3 separate regions of the Homo sapiens genome follow, and regions 1 and 3 are each linked to region 2. Evidence: promoter capture Hi-C in 16 types of primary human blood cells and fetal thymus (Javierre and others, 2016). All regions are on one chromosome and are shown on one strand. The core of a region is centred on a gene start or on the middle of the fragment in contact, and the rest is flanking DNA. Distances in the headings are between cores, read along the strand shown.

The links. The method cuts DNA at HindIII sites, captures the fragments that hold promoters and counts their contacts. A CHiCAGO score of 5 or more calls a contact.
Region 1: a contact is called between a fragment that was not itself captured here and the fragment with the promoter of CNPPD1 in region 2, in 4 of 17 cell types (naive B cells, total B cells, naive CD8 T cells and 1 more). The highest score is 7.0, in naive B cells.
Region 3: a fragment that was not itself captured here is called in contact with the fragment with the promoter of CNPPD1 in region 2 in 10 of 17 cell types (naive B cells, total B cells, naive CD4 T cells and 7 more); the score reaches 9.6 in naive B cells.

Annotation. Positions count from the first base shown.
Region 1 is chr2:218,902,467-218,907,391 of GRCh38, forward strand. It overlaps LINC01494 (long intergenic non-protein coding RNA 1494), which reads right to left. Exons shown (of 5, transcript NR_110238.1): 4 at 4,373-4,580. Among named protein-coding and RNA genes, the nearest start is that of WNT10A, 24 kb to the left of the region's middle. The HindIII fragment of the contact is 1,258 bases long and covers 1,452-2,709 here.
Region 2 is chr2:219,174,955-219,179,885 of GRCh38, forward strand. It overlaps CNPPD1 (cyclin Pas1/PHO80 domain containing 1), which reads right to left and starts at 1,971. Exons shown (of 8, transcript NM_015680.6): 1 at 1,806-1,971; 2 at 1,269-1,377; 3 at 637-718; 4 at 34-154. The coding sequence starts at 1,874. RETREG2 (reticulophagy regulator family member 2) reads left to right here and starts at 3,321. Exons shown (of 9, transcript NM_024293.6): 1 at 3,321-3,679; 2 at 3,968-4,074; 3 at 4,779-4,809. The coding sequence starts at 3,399. RefSeq lists silencers at 1,593-1,887, 1,726-1,785, 1,906-2,115, 2,186-2,235, 3,226-3,305 and 2 more and an enhancer at 3,016-3,516. The HindIII fragment of the contact is 4,554 bases long and covers 921-4,931 here.
Region 3 is chr2:218,873,391-218,878,262 of GRCh38, forward strand. It overlaps WNT6 (Wnt family member 6), which reads left to right. Exons shown (of 4, transcript NM_006522.4): 4 at 1-843. The coding sequence ends at 455. It also overlaps a transcript of WNT10A not described here. Among named protein-coding and RNA genes, the nearest start is that of WNT10A, 5.0 kb to the right of the region's middle. The HindIII fragment of the contact is 2,337 bases long and covers 1,211-3,547 here.

The sequences.
Region 1 (4,925 bases), core at 831-3,330, 270 kb before region 2:
CATGACTTACAAGGCGTGATAGGATTGGCTCCCTGCTACCTCTTTCACCTCATTTTCTCCTCCAACTCTCTCTCATCCACTTTACTTTAGCCACACTGGCCTCCTGCAAATTCCTTGAGCAATCCAAACACTGTCTTGCCTCAGGGCCTTTGCACCTCCTCCCTCTGCCTGAAATCGGTTTCCTCCAGATAACCGCATGAATGTTGTCTTCCTTCATTCAGGACCTCACTGAAATATCTCCTTATGAGAGGGGCCTTGTATGGTGCCTCATGCCTGGAATCCCAGTGCTTTGAAAGACTGAGGCGGGAGGATCACTTGATCCCAGGAGTTCAAGTCTACATTGAGCTATGATCAAGCCACTGTACTCCAGCCTGATTGACAGGGCAAGACCCTGTCTCAAAAAAGAAAAAAAAACCCACACAAAATAAACATAGAAAAGAGGAGCCTTGGCAGAACATCCTGTATAACATAGCAAACTTCCTCTTACCTTTACCTTGCTTTATTTTTCTTCATAGTATAGATCACATATTTGACCATATTTGTGTATTTCTTTATGCTCTGCTTCCACACTCTATAATGGAAACTCTACGAGAACTGAGACTCTGTTGTTTTTTGCTGTATTTCTAATGCCAAGAATGGTATTAAGTACATAGTAGGAACTCAATAAATATAAGTGAATGAATGAATAAATAAATAAATGTCTACAGAAATCACTACTAACTTCTGTCTTCAGGCCCAAACTTCCTTCCTATGATCTTTCTTTTTTTTTCTTTTGAGACAGAGTCTCGCTCTGTCACCCAAGCTGGAATGCAGTGGTGTGATTTCAGCTTACTGCAACCTCTGCCTCCTGGGTTCAAGCAATTCTCCTGCCTTAGCCTCCTGAGTAGCTGGTATTACAGGTGTGCACCACCATGCCGGGCTAATTTTTGTATTTTAGTAGAGACAGGGTTTCGCCATGTTGGCCAGGCAGGTCTTGAATTCCTGACCTCAGGTGATCCACCCATCTTGGCCTCCCAAAGTGCTGGGATTACAGGTGTGAGCCACCACACCTGGTCTCCTGTGATCTTTCTTGAAGTTCCAGCTGCCAGCTAGACATGTTTTAATGTATGCCTGTGATACCACCCACTCAAGCTTTATTTTATTTTATTTTATTTTTGAGACAGAGTCCTGCTCTGTCACCCAGGCTGGAGTGCAATGGCGCCATCTCAGCTCACAGCAACCTCTGACTCCTCTGCCTCCCAGGTTCAAGCAATTCTCCTGCATCAGCCTCCTGAGTGGCTGGGATTACAGGTGGCCTGCCACCACGCCCAGCTCATTTTTTGTATTTTTAGTAGAGATGGGGTTTCACTATGTTGGCCAGGCTGGTCTTGAACTTCTGACCCCAAGTGATCCACCTACCTCAGCCTCCCAAAGTGCTGGGATTACAGGCGTGAGCCACCATGCCCGGCTCAAGCTTTATTAATGCAGATTCATTATCTTATGTATGTATTTGCTAAGGGCTGAGACTTTGTTTTGTTTACTGTTCTTTTCTCAATGCCTAGCACAGTGCTTGGCATAGACCAGGCATTTAATATTTGTTGAATAAGTGAATGAATGACTTTCCCCTCCAAACCAGTTCTCCTTAACTTGCTTGTTTCTCTTTGTCACATCATCATTTTCTTAGTCACTGAACCTCAAAACTGGTGTAAACTTGGACTCTCACCTTCTCTTCTCCTTTCTATATTCAATCAGTGGCCAAGATCTGCTTATTCTTCCACTTCATTCACATGGTCAATATCCTAGTTCACCACACACCTCAAACATCACAACGACCTTCCAACTAGCCTCTGTCATTCCTCTTTCTTCCTCTTCAATCCATCCCTATCCTATTGTTCTGTTTTTCTCTCCCACGAAGTGCTCTGATCATGTCATTTCCTCTGACTAAAGCTCTCAATGGATCTTTGTACCAATTTGGGTTCTTAATTGCAAACAACAGAAACAGACTCTGGTTCACTTAGTAGAAGAGGAATTTACTGGGATGACATCAGGGAACTCAAAGAATTGACAGGAAGCCTCAAGAATCAGGCTCAGGAAGCAAGCAGGAGCCAAGAGAAGCTAGGCAGCTAGAACTTTAGCTAAATCCTGTCCCAAGTGCAGCCTGATTAAGGGGCTTGGGGGCTGCTTCCCACATGGCTACCACCACCCTGAGCACTTGCTGCTGCCACCTCTGGGATGAATTATAAACAGTCCTCTTCCTCCTTGGGTCACTTGTTGAAGATTTAGAGTCCTGACTGGGAGCATTGATTTGGCTGTGATCTTCCTGCTAGGGGCCAGGTGAGCAAGTATCTGACTTCTCACTAAGACTCACATTAGGGAGGCTCCACCAACATATGAAGGGGGCTCAGATGCTGGGCAGCTAAAGACTCCAGTGTGTATCCATATGCAGGTTCCTGAGCATTGAAGCCCTCCACCATATGCCACAAACGATCATCTCCAGTTTTTTCTCACTTCCACACCATGTTCCACTGAAGCATGACTGTGTGCAGTTCCCTGAGCAGTCCTTTCCTGCCTCAGCCCCTGTAATAGCTGGGCCCCAAAGGTGGTCCGCCTTGAATCATGCTTCACACCTGTGTATTGTCCCCTCCCCTTGAAAGGGCCAGTCCATGCTTCCTTTTCACTGAGTGTGCTGTGGAAGCGAAGCTGCATGACTGCTGAAGAGAGGGAATAGGAAGCTTTGCAGTTTTTGCCTCAGTCGCTCGGAATGTTCACTCTGGGGCAAGCCAATCACCGTGTATGAGGTCTGTCTACCCAGAGACTACCATGCTATGAGGAACCCGAAACAAGCCACATGGGAAGGCTGTATAGAGAGAGTAATGCCTGGGCAGGCCCCTTCAGTTCCAGCCAATTCAGATGAGGTGCCAGACATGTGACTTTAAAAAGTCATCTTGGGGCTGGGCTCAGTGGTTCACACCTGTAATCTCAGCACTTTGGGAGGCCGAGGCAGGCGGATAACTTGAGGCCAGGAGTTCAAGACCATCCTGGCCAACATGGCGAAACCCCATCTCTACTAAAAATACAAAAAATTAGCCAGACATAGTGGCACATGCCTGTAGTCCCAGCTTCTCGGGAGGCTGAGGCATGAGAATCACTTGAACCTGGGAGGTGGAGGTTGCAGTGAGTGAGATTGCGCCACTACAGTCCAGCCTGGGTGACGAAGTGAGGCTGTGTCTTCAAAAATAAATAAATAAATAAATAAATTTTTAAAAAGTCATCTTGGATATCCAGCCGAGTTGAGCCTTCAGATGACTCCAGCCTTAGCCACCATCTAACTGAACTGCTTGAGAGACCCCACGTGAGAACTGCCCAGCTGACTGTAGTCAACCCACAGGACTGTGGGATGTAAATGGTTATTTTTAAGCCACTGAATTTTGGAGCGGTTTGTTACTCAGTAATAGAAAATGGAAACAGCCCCTCTGTGGTCCATGTTTCCCTCTCTCTGGAATGTACCCCAACTGTCCTGCCTTAGCTCCATGTCCACTCATATCTGCTCTTGTCAAAATCCTTCCAGTGAGCATGGCACAGTGCAGAGGAAAGAGCCAGGCTTTGGGGTCAGCCTGTGCGGCGGGAGGGATTGAATCCTAGTTTAGTCTCTCACTATCCCTGTGACCTAAGGCAAAGTCATTAAGTTCTCTGGACCTCAGTTTCTGTATCTGCTATATTGAAATAAAAACACTCATCTGCTGAAGTTGTTTTGAGGACTAGATGTAATATATGTAAAGTACCTAGACGTCTCACCCATTTTAGTCTCACTGAATGGTGGCCTTTAGCAGACACTTAGCCTTCTAGCCTGGCATCAAATGGCACTTCTGAGGTCTAATTCTCATCACTTATAAATTATATGGTTTTGGAAAATTCCTTAAATTTCTCTGAGCCTTACTCTCCTCATATGTAACATACCTAGACCCTTAAGCCATGTCCCTTAACCGGCATGGCATCAGAAATCCTTGGAAGAGGAAGTAAACCATGGCCACAGTTGGGGTTCCCCAGTGTCTGGTGGGCTGGGGGTCTGTAGTGGATGGCAGACTGCAGGGGAGGAACAACAGAGGCCGGAGAGCTCATCACCCTGAGTGAGAAAAAGGTTTCACTGGACAGGGAAGGGGTCCGCCGAACAGGGCAGAGGGAGGAGTGCTATTTGGAATGTTGTGAGGCTGGGCATGACCACTGGGGCTTGGTGCACCTCTACCCTCACTCCCTCAGGCCTCAGGGCCTTCCTGGTGGAAAGGGAAACATTTGGGGTATAGGGCAAGAACGGGCTCGCTAGGGCACAGACATCTCTGCTGTGGGAACTCCTTATGAAAGAGCTGAGAATGAGAAACAGAACATGCTTCCCCACCTCAAGGAGAGAGAGATGTCAGAGAACCATGGACCAGGGGGCAGGCAGAGAGGCAGCAAGTGACGGTGAGATGAGTGGCATTGGCAGCAGCCCCGACCATGTGGGCAGCAACCCCACCCGGCTTCTTCTCAGACTCTCACTGAAGGTGAGGGCACGTGGAGATGTGGGAAGTTCCAGATGAGAGCACACTGTATGATCCCAGTGGCAGCTGCAAAAACAGGCAAAGTTAACTTATGCAGTTGGAAGGCAGGATAGTGGCCTGTAATCCCAACCCAGGAGGTCGAAGCTACAGTGAGCTATGATCATGCCACTGCACTTAAGCTTGGGTGACAAAGTGAGACCCCATCTCCAAAAAATAAAATAAATAAAATAAAATAAAATAAATAAAATGAAATAAAAAGGCATGATAGTGGTTATCCCTGTAGGAGATGCAGTGAATAGAGGGAAACAGGAGAAGGGTTTGGGGAGCTGGTAATGATTTGTTTCTTCCTCAGGGACCTGATTACACTACTTTGTTCATTGTGTTAAAAGTTAAGTGCACATAGGATTTGTG
Region 2 (4,931 bases), core at 721-3,220:
GCTCTTTAGGGAGATGGGGAGGGGGTGTCTTACCATGGAGATCAGGAACAAGTCAGAGGATGACACATGCTGCAAGTAGTCTGGGTTTCGGTGCCGGAGCCGTTCAATGTACACCAGAGCCAGCATCATAGCACATGGGGAGATGCATGCCTCCCTGGGTGGTAGAAAGGATCACTAATTAAACCCAAGGGTCCTTCAGCTCTTGCAAGTCTTATGATGCTCGTTCCTGTCTTTACCTCTTATCTTTGGAAAAAAACTATTCCTGGCTGGGCACGGTGGCTCATGTCTGTAATCCCAGCACTTTGGAAGACCAAGGTGGGTGGACTGACACCAGGAGTTTGACACCAGCCTGGCCAACATGGTGAAACCCCGTCTTTACTAAAAATACAAAAATTAGCCAGGGGCGGTGGTGTGTGCCTGTAGTCCCAGCTACTGGGGAGGCTGAGGCACAAGAATCACTGGAACCCAGGAGGCGGAGGTTGCGGTGAGCCGAGATTGTGCCACTGCACTCCAGCCTGGGTGACAAAGTGAGACTGTCTCAAAAAAAAAAAAAAGAAAGAAAGAAAAGAAAGAAAAGACGATTCCCCTTTCTCTAGGGCCCAAACACTCTCATCCTATCCTCATTTCCAGGCTCACCGGGACACATGAGCTACATATTTCTTCTGGAGTCGGCGAATAGGGCTGGGGGCTGCCTTCTGGAGCAGTTCGACAGCAATGTCTGCAAGGGACAGAAGGAAGGCCGAGTGAGCAAACAAGCACCCACACCCAACACACCAGTCCCCACTGCTAGCAGAAGACCCAGATCTGTATTTTCTGAGGCCTTGGGGACAGGACCATAGTAACAAAATAGAGATCAAATTCTCACACACTGAGACAAAAAGCCCATTCCAAGTTCGAATTTCAGCTCATTCTAACAGGAAAGCTTATTGCCCTGTCACATCAAACTATCCAGATTTATCTGTCACTGCTGTTCATCTGTGGCATAAACATGCCTTGTTTACTTGGGGAACATATGATGGATATCCTTCGAAAATTAGCTTTTCAATATATAAATCAAGAGTGATTTGTATAGATATATGTGGCAGCAATGTTTTTTATTCATTTGGGCTAAAAGAATGGGAAATGCAAACTGCCCTCTTGAACCAAGTACCAACGAGCTAGCAATGAAGAGACAGTGTAGCCACGGGGCAAACCTCGAGCCATTTTCTGCCTGATGACAATCCCATTTTCATGCTTCTCACTTGTCCAGTCACACAACACTGCCTAACCTGCCACCGGGCTGGAGAGCTCCTCCAGGCTACAGTCGGCTTCCCAGTCCCAGCCATAGTAGAGCCTCCTTCGGATCCGGGCACTCAGCTTCTGGTGTCCTGGGAGGAACTGAAACAGGGCAGGGGCAGCGGAGGGTGAAGGGCACGGAAAGGTATGATGCAGATCCTGGCTCTGGGCTGGAAGGCGGGGCAGGGGACAGGCCGGCCTCGCTGCTAGGGGGCCCGTGCCTTACCCAGACCCGCGTTCTGTAAATCGCTTGCCAATGGCAGCCTGGTCCATAGAGGGAGGAATGCCCCCACCCCCATCGAGGGTTCCCCGGGAGAAGTTCTCCGAGAAGGGCCCTCGTGTGGCCACCCCTACGCCCATTCCTATACTCCGCGGCTCTCCCTCCCGGCCCAAGCAGCCGCGGCCTCAAGGAAGCACTGCTCGAGCAGCTGCCGCCCAGTCCCGGCACAGCAGTCAGGCGAGCTCGCAGCGCCGCTCAGGCCGGGAGGGGCGCGCCGGGAGGCCGGGGAGGGGGCGGGACCCCCACTCACCGTGAAGTCCTGGAAGCCGGCGAGGGAGAAGGTGCCTTCTTCGTCCAGCAGGAGCCCGGTCAGGTCCATCGCGCCGCCAGTCGCCGCCCTGCGAAGGTGAACGGAAGGAAACGAGTTGTAGGGGGCTCGCGGAGCTGTCCTTGCCCGCCTGTCCACCTGCCAGCCTGCCTCCCCGGGGCGGGCCGCCGTCCTCGCCCTCGCCCTCGCAGCTCCCTCCCCCCGGCGGCGGAAGGCGGGGCCCGGGCTGAACTGGGCGCCTCTTCCTGTTCCGCCCCGGGCTTGGCGCGGCGCGCGGGGGCCCTAGGCCCGGGAAGGGAGGTGTCAAGCGTCCGTGCGACGCTCACCTCGCGGAGCAGAAAGGAGATGCGGCTGCGAGGCGCGTACTCCGCCTGTGCCGCGTCCGCCCGGCGTTTACAAGCCGCGGGGGTGCCGCCTGCAAGTCAGCGCCTGGCACTTCCTGCCGCCCATCTGGCCCAGCCTCCCGCCCCGACCCGCGGGCAGGAACCGGACTCGAACTCCTGGTCTCACGGAACGTGGCCAAGCCCCAGGCGCCTCTGAGAAATGGGGACAATTCGTAGGGGGGACCACGCCGCACTGAGGATGAACAAGCCAGGCGTAGCAATGGAGAAGTTAATGTGAATAAGACGAAACGCACAACAGGAAGTTGTTCCCAGTTGCTTTTTAGGAGAGATATTATACATACTCAGCAATGCATATGAAAAGCGTCTGAAAGGACACACAGGAAATTTAGCAGTGGGTGAACTATGAAAAGGAAGAGAAACTCAGGGTGTTTTTTTTTTTTACTGTAATTTGAACTTTTAAACCTAAGGCTACTGAGGAAATTCTGTGATCTTAAGCGAATGTAAGGCCTCAAAACGTGTCAACACGTCCACCCAAAAGTAAACTGCATCTACCCAAGGTTTTGTGTTGAAACCCACCTCCCGCCTCCGATCTCATGCTTGAGTAGGCCGAGGTGGGAAGAAGCTCCGATATGTGGAAGTGGGAAAGTTTAAGGAGATAGGAAAGAAACAACTTTTCTGAGTAGATGTTGTTTTCGAGTCTGTCGAGTCAAGCGCTGGTGTGTGTTTGTTTACCCACTGAGGGGAGGGAACTGGGAGGACCAGTGCGTTGAGGGTTGGTTGAGTAATGGGACGGCCACCGCCCTTCCCGAGCGAGCAGAAGCAGACCCTACCGGGGATACTGGGAATCTGGAAGCCCACTTCCTGCCCCACACGGGGATACCGGGGCAGCACCACACTCCCTAGCCGCCCTGCCTACTGTGGGATAAGAAAACGGGCTCGACTGCCTGGACCTAGACCCGGACTCGGAACCCGGGGTACTTCGTCAACCAGAAAACGAACCTGTGTAGGCGCAGTGTCAGCGGCAGCCGCCGGGGCGCATGCGCGGCCCGCCCTATCCGGGGGGGGGGGGGTTAGGCCGCGTCACGTGACGGGCTCAGCGCTCCGCAGTCACGTGACGCTCGTCCGCAACCTCTGCTGTCCTCCGCGGCGCCCCCTTCCGCCTGACGCGCCCCCGGCGGCGGCCGCGCAGCCCTGGCTCCTCGCGGGCTCGGGCGGCGGCTGCGGCGGGGCTATGGCGAGCGGCGGTGGCGGGGGTAACACTGGCGCGGGTGGGGGGCCGGGGATGGGCCTGAGCCTGGGCCTGGGTCTGGGTCTGAGCCTAGGCATGAGTGAGGCCACCAGTGAGGCAGAGGAGGAGGCGGCCACGGCCGAGGCGGTGGGACGCCTGGCCACGACGCTGTGGCTGCGGCTCCGCGGCTGGGAGGCGGTGCTGGCGGCGGCGCAGCGGTTGCTGGTGTGGGAGAAGCCGCTGCACAGCCTGGTCACGGCGGCCGCGCTCAACGGCCTCTTCTGGTAACGGCCGCGGAGGAGGGGGCGGGGCCGGGATGAGCGGGGGAGGGAGGGGTCGAGAGCACCATTCCCCTTTCTGGGTTATCACTTGGCCTGGGGGCATGACCCATCCCCAGTTTTTGCAGGCTGACATCCGCTTGAATTGCCCATTTTTTTCTATCTCTGAGTCGTGAGTCGCGAGTTAGGCCTGGAGGTGCCATTACCCCATCAGTAGGCGCCTTTCCACCTTCTGAGATGGATGCATGAGCCTGTCTCACCCACTCACTGCTGAGGTGCCTGTCTCTCCCTAAGGTTGCTGTCTTCCTCGTCCCTCCGGCCCTTCTTCCTACTCAGCGTCTCACTTTTGGCCTATTTTCTGCTGGATCTCTGGCAGCCTCGCTTTCTCCCTGACGTTTCAGGTGAGTGTTTCTTCATTCAGTAAGCACCCATTGGGTACTTGCTTGGTGCCTGATTCCGCTGGGTGGGGTTAAGTGGCGAGGGGAACGTACAGCAGGCCACCTGCCTCCCAGGCATGGCCCACTTCCTTTTTGTACGGAATTCCCTAAAATGAGAATTGCCCCTTTCCCAAACTAATACTACTGTAGGTGCAGTGGTTAAGATGGTGAAGTCTGCAGCCATATTACCTGGGTTCCATTCTCTGTTCTGCCATTTACCATTGCTGTGACCTTGTAAAAGTAGCTCAATTTCTGTTTGTCTCAATTTCCTTATCTGTAAAACACAGATGATAGAACTTACTTCATAGAGAGGTGAGGAGAGGATTAATGAGTTAATACACATGCTATACTTATGATAGTGTTTCACATATAAGCCTTATAAATAGAACGTCAGTGTTGTTTTTCTTGTTATCCATATAATTTACTTAGTAGGTGACAGGCTGTATGTGAGTTGCTTGGGAGATAAGCATGAGTAAAATCTAGTTCTTATGTTGGAGAAGGGTAATGTCTAAAGGAGACAGACGCAAACAAAAACATGTAACAGCTCCCCCATTGGCATCTGAAGAAGGTGCTCTGGGGCTGCAGAGGAGGGACAACTATTTCTGCCTTGGGGAGTGTCTCCCAGGGCCCCTACCACTCAATAATTTGCCCCCCTCCTCTCTCTCTAGCATCATCCCCAGAGGAGCCACACTCTGACAGGTGAGTACAGGCCACCTCTTGAAGACAAATGCCCACATCCTGTCCTGCTTGCTGGTGCCAGTGTCACCATGGAGCAGGGCAGTGCCCCAGCATTGTGAATGAACTGGTAACAAGCCATGGGT
Region 3 (4,872 bases), core at 1,129-3,628, 300 kb before region 2:
GGAGCCACACGCGCACCGAGTGCAAATGCCACGGGCTGTCGGGATCATGCGCGCTGCGCACCTGCTGGCAGAAGCTGCCTCCATTTCGCGAGGTGGGCGCGCGGCTGCTGGAGCGCTTCCACGGCGCCTCACGCGTCATGGGCACCAACGACGGCAAGGCCCTGCTGCCCGCCGTCCGCACGCTCAAGCCGCCGGGCCGAGCGGACCTCCTCTACGCCGCCGATTCGCCCGACTTCTGCGCCCCCAACCGACGCACCGGCTCCCCCGGCACGCGCGGTCGCGCCTGCAATAGCAGCGCCCCGGACCTCAGCGGCTGCGACCTGCTGTGCTGCGGCCGCGGGCACCGCCAGGAGAGCGTGCAGCTCGAAGAGAACTGCCTGTGCCGCTTCCACTGGTGCTGCGTAGTACAGTGCCACCGCTGCCGTGTGCGCAAGGAGCTCAGCCTCTGCCTGTGACCCGCCGCCCGGCCGCTAGACTGACTTCGCGCAGCGGTGGCTCGCACCTGTGGGACCTCAGGGCACCGGCACCGGGCGCCTCTCGCCGCTCGAGCCCAGCCTCTCCCTGCCAAAGCCCAACTCCCAGGGCTCTGGAAATGGTGAGGCGAGGGGCTTGAGAGGAACGCCCACCCACGAAGGCCCAGGGCGCCAGACGGCCCCGAAAAGGCGCTCGGGGAGCGTTTAAAGGACACTGTACAGGCCCTCCCTCCCCTTGGCCTCTAGGAGGAAACAGTTTTTTAGACTGGAAAAAAGCCAGTCTAAAGGCCTCTGGATACTGGGCTCCCCAGAACTGCTGGCCACAGGATGGTGGGTGAGGTTAGTATCAATAAAGATATTTAAACCACCAGGGCTGGACCCACAGTTTTGGGGGAGACTGATCTTCAGGCTGCCAGGCTCCAGAAGAAGGTGGTTTTGCTAGAACTAGCACCTCAGGGGCTATCACCTGGGTCCCTATCTCCCGACCAGGTTGGCCTCTCCTGGAAACTCGCTATCTCCCCTTGGCATTCTTCTTGTTCACTCCTGTCACACATCTAGGTCCTGGATCTGCAAGCTGGAGAAGAACTAGCAATTCCTCTTTAAAGGGACAGGGGCATCAGAAGCTTCTGATGCATACCTCTTGACACCCAACAATATTTCCTTCCTTCTGGTTCCTCTTGGGAAGCTACTGGTGAAAGTGAGGAGACAGAGGGCAGTTCTGGATTCTCCAGAGCTGAAGCTTGAGCTCTCATCTTCCTCCAGAGAGAAAGAGGGATGGCATAGCCCAACTTCCAGGACCCAGAGCCTCCAACTTTCCTCCAGTCCAAATACTGCAATGGGGAATGACTCCCCCATCAAGGTATGGAGGACAAAAAATGAGCTTTGGGGTCAGACACTCTGGGTTTGCAGTTGGTGCTGCTGCTTAGAACTTTACAACAGAGGCCAAATTAGCCTCATTTTCTTTATACAAAGGGATTTCGCTCTGTTTCAGTTATCCATTGCTACATAACAAACAACCCCAAAGTAATCACTTCTCAGGATTTTTGAGGTCATGATTGGTCAGAACTCAGCTTGGTAGGTCTGCTCTATATAGCAGAACCATTGGCTTGGGTTCACATGGCTGCATTCTGCTGGAGTCTCCACTGTGCTGTGCTGGACAGTCCAAGAAGCCCCCACTCACATGTCTAGGGCACAGAGCTTCTCTTGTGCTCTCATTCTCTCCATGTGGCTAACCTGGGCTTCCTCGCTGCATGTTAGCCTTAGGATAGTCAGACTTCTTACATAAGACTGACTTTCTTTTTTTTTTTTTTTTTTTTTTTTTTTTTTTTTTTTTTTTTTTTTTTGAGATGGAGTCTCGCTCTGTTGCCCAGGCTGGAGTGCAGTGACGTGATCTCAGCTCACTGCAAGTTCTGCCTCCTGGGTTCATGCCATTCTCCTGCCTCAGCCTCCCAAGTAGCTGGGACTACAGGCGCCCACCACCACACTTGGATACGTTTTTTTGTATTTTTAGTAGAGATGGGGTTTCACCGTGTTAGCCAAGACGGTCTTGATCTCCTGACCTCGTGATCCGCCTGCCTTGGCCTCCCAAAGTGCTGGGATTACAGGCGTGAGCCACCGCGCCCGGCCAAAACTGACTTTCAAAGGAAAGTGTACCAAACTTGAAGGCAGAAGCTGTAAGTATCTTCTCAAGTCCAGCTTTGGAAGTTACATAGCATCACTGTAACTGTGTATTGGTCAAAACAGTTCACAGAGCCAGGCAAAATTCAAAGGGAGGGAAAATTAATTCCACCTCTCAATGGGAGGAGTGGCAAATAATTTGCAGCCATCATAATCTGTCCCACACCCTCACAGGATTGTTGGGAGAATTTTTTTTTGAGATATGAAAGCCTTTAGCATAGCTTGTGACACATAATTTGTCAAACATATGTTTAGTAAATGATAGTTACTGTGAGAATGGGGACAGACATATGATGCTTTGCAGATATTGGGCAGGCCCTGATTGCAAATGAAGATACCTGACTTTTAGCTGAGGCCAAACAGAAATAATGAATGGCTTTTATACCAGGGAAGTCCAGAGGTTAGTCTGAATTCAGGTACAGCTGAACCCAGGGGCTCACGTGGTGTCACAGGCTTCTTTCTCATCTCCTTCCCTCTCCCTCGCCTCTGCATCTATTGTTTCTGCTTATCTCTGCCTCTCTTGGCATACTGTCCTCATTATCTCCTCCTGCAGACTTTCTCCATGACAGCTCTATATGCAGTCTTAGATCCAAAAGCAGAAGAATGACTTTCCCAGTTGTCTCCAACAGAAGTCCCAAGGAAGACCTTGCTTAGTTCAGCTTGGTCATTTGCCTATTCCTGAACCAATAATGGTGTCTAGGGAGATGTACTACCATGCCTGGGATTGACAGCCTCTCTAGAACCACAGGGGGGTGGGGCAGGCACAGGGAGCAAAGCACAGTCCTTCAAATGAAACAGAAGGAAAGGGAGCTCGTTCTGGATGTGACAGACCCTCACCGTGGCTTCCAGGACCCCTGTCCTTCCCCCGCAATGCCCCTGCATTCACTCGGTGACCTAGCCTGCTTCAATCCTCAAGGCTCATGGTGGGGAGGGGTGTCAGGCTGCAGTGGGAAGGTTGAGGCACCAGGGTTTTCCTTTCTGCCTCCTCTTGGCTCCCTTGGGTCAAATGTCTGGGCCTCAGGGAAGTCATGGAGAATTTGGACTTAGAACTCCTTGACCAAAGGAAACTCTGTTAACTTACCAAAGGAGACAGTGGAAATACATTATGGTCCACATAGAGGAGAAATGAAGCTCCCTGAGGGCAAGGTTTATATTCACAGATCTGCCTTCCCCAAAGCTCTGCTCTTATCTTCAAACAAACAAAAAAACCAAACAAGCCCAAAACCCAAACTCCTGCACTTCTCTCAGAGACCACCAGAGGGCATGCGGAGCCCAGCTTCTCTATTAACAGGGAGCGACAGACAGGACCTGCAGGACATCTGGGAAACTCAGAGAGTGGTGGGCAGGAGAGGATAGGACTGAAAGGAAGCAAGGAGACCTACAGACAGCTTGGGTCAAGCTTCTAGGGTTCCAGACTGTCTGGGACGTCTGGGCTGGCCCAGACCTAGGGCTGGGATGCCAGCCTCCCAGACTCTACCACTGCTGGGTCCTGCAGGGGGTGAGATAGGGTGGAAGATGCTGGACATCTTCCTCCACAATGCCAGGGAGGGAAGCTGGGGAAGTGGCATGAACTGGCACCATTCTAGGCAGGTTAAAAGGAATTCAGAGGAAGTTGTATGGTACAATGAAAAATGCCTTGTTTGCTAGCTTGACCTTGGTCAAGTCAGTTAACCTATCTGAGCACTTCCTATCACCTAATAGGGGTCCCTGATTGCTTTTTAGCACATTGTGAGAATGCACTTCCATCTTTAAACTGCTGGCCACATGTTACTGGTCCATCTTCTGTTACCAAGCCCTGAAGGCGTCTGGGCACTGCCTTCTATGAAGGGTGGGAGTGATTACCAGAAGGCACCATTGGGACTTCTAGCCTTATCTTCTTTGAGCCCAGAGATAGATCTGTGCTGTTGCCCTGCTGCCTGGGAAGGGGCCGGAAGTAGAGTTCCCACCACCACCCACCCCTGCTCATCCAGCTGCTCAGCCTCAGGCAGTCTGAGCCATCAAAGTCCCCTGCTGGCTGAATGGCAGGGGACATGTGGAACTGGGGAGATGGGGGAAGTGCAAAGAGGCACCCCAGATGTGTGTGTGACCACATCAGGAACAGGCGGAACACAGGCAGATGGGTGAGGAGGCCGAGTGGAAGGCCTAGGATCAGCCTGAGGCCACGGGCTCGGGGAACAATTCCCTTCCCTTTCAATGACCAAACACATTGGGAGTTTGGGGAGACTGCAGCAGCAAGCCATTCCCCCTTACCTTGCTGAGGGTTGGTGGCCTCTGAGGCCTGGACAATGGAATGAAGAGCCTCCTTATTGGTCTGTGGCTCCTTGGCGTTCTTCTTCAGCAAGACAAACTTCTCCAGCTGGGCACCAGGACTGGGCTGGGGCTGGACTGGGCTAGGCTGGGGCTGTGAGGGTCCCACCTGTTCTCACCCCCATGCTTCCCCGGCCCTTCCTCCCTGTGACCTTCTCCAGAGCTGCCACAGCTGGAACCATTCTCCAAGCTGCCTTTCATCCCCAGTGCTCCCCCGCCCCCCAGTGGCCCCTGTAATTGTGGTCTTAGGCGGCGGCTGCGGGGGCTGGGGCTGGGCTGAGGGCCAGGGCCCAGGGCAGGGCCAGGGTGGGGACTAGGGGGTGCTGATAGGGGCTTGGCCATGGTGTGGGTCATTTGGGGCTGGGACCCCAGGGGCAGACAGTCTCTGGGCCTCACCTACATACATGCCAAGGCT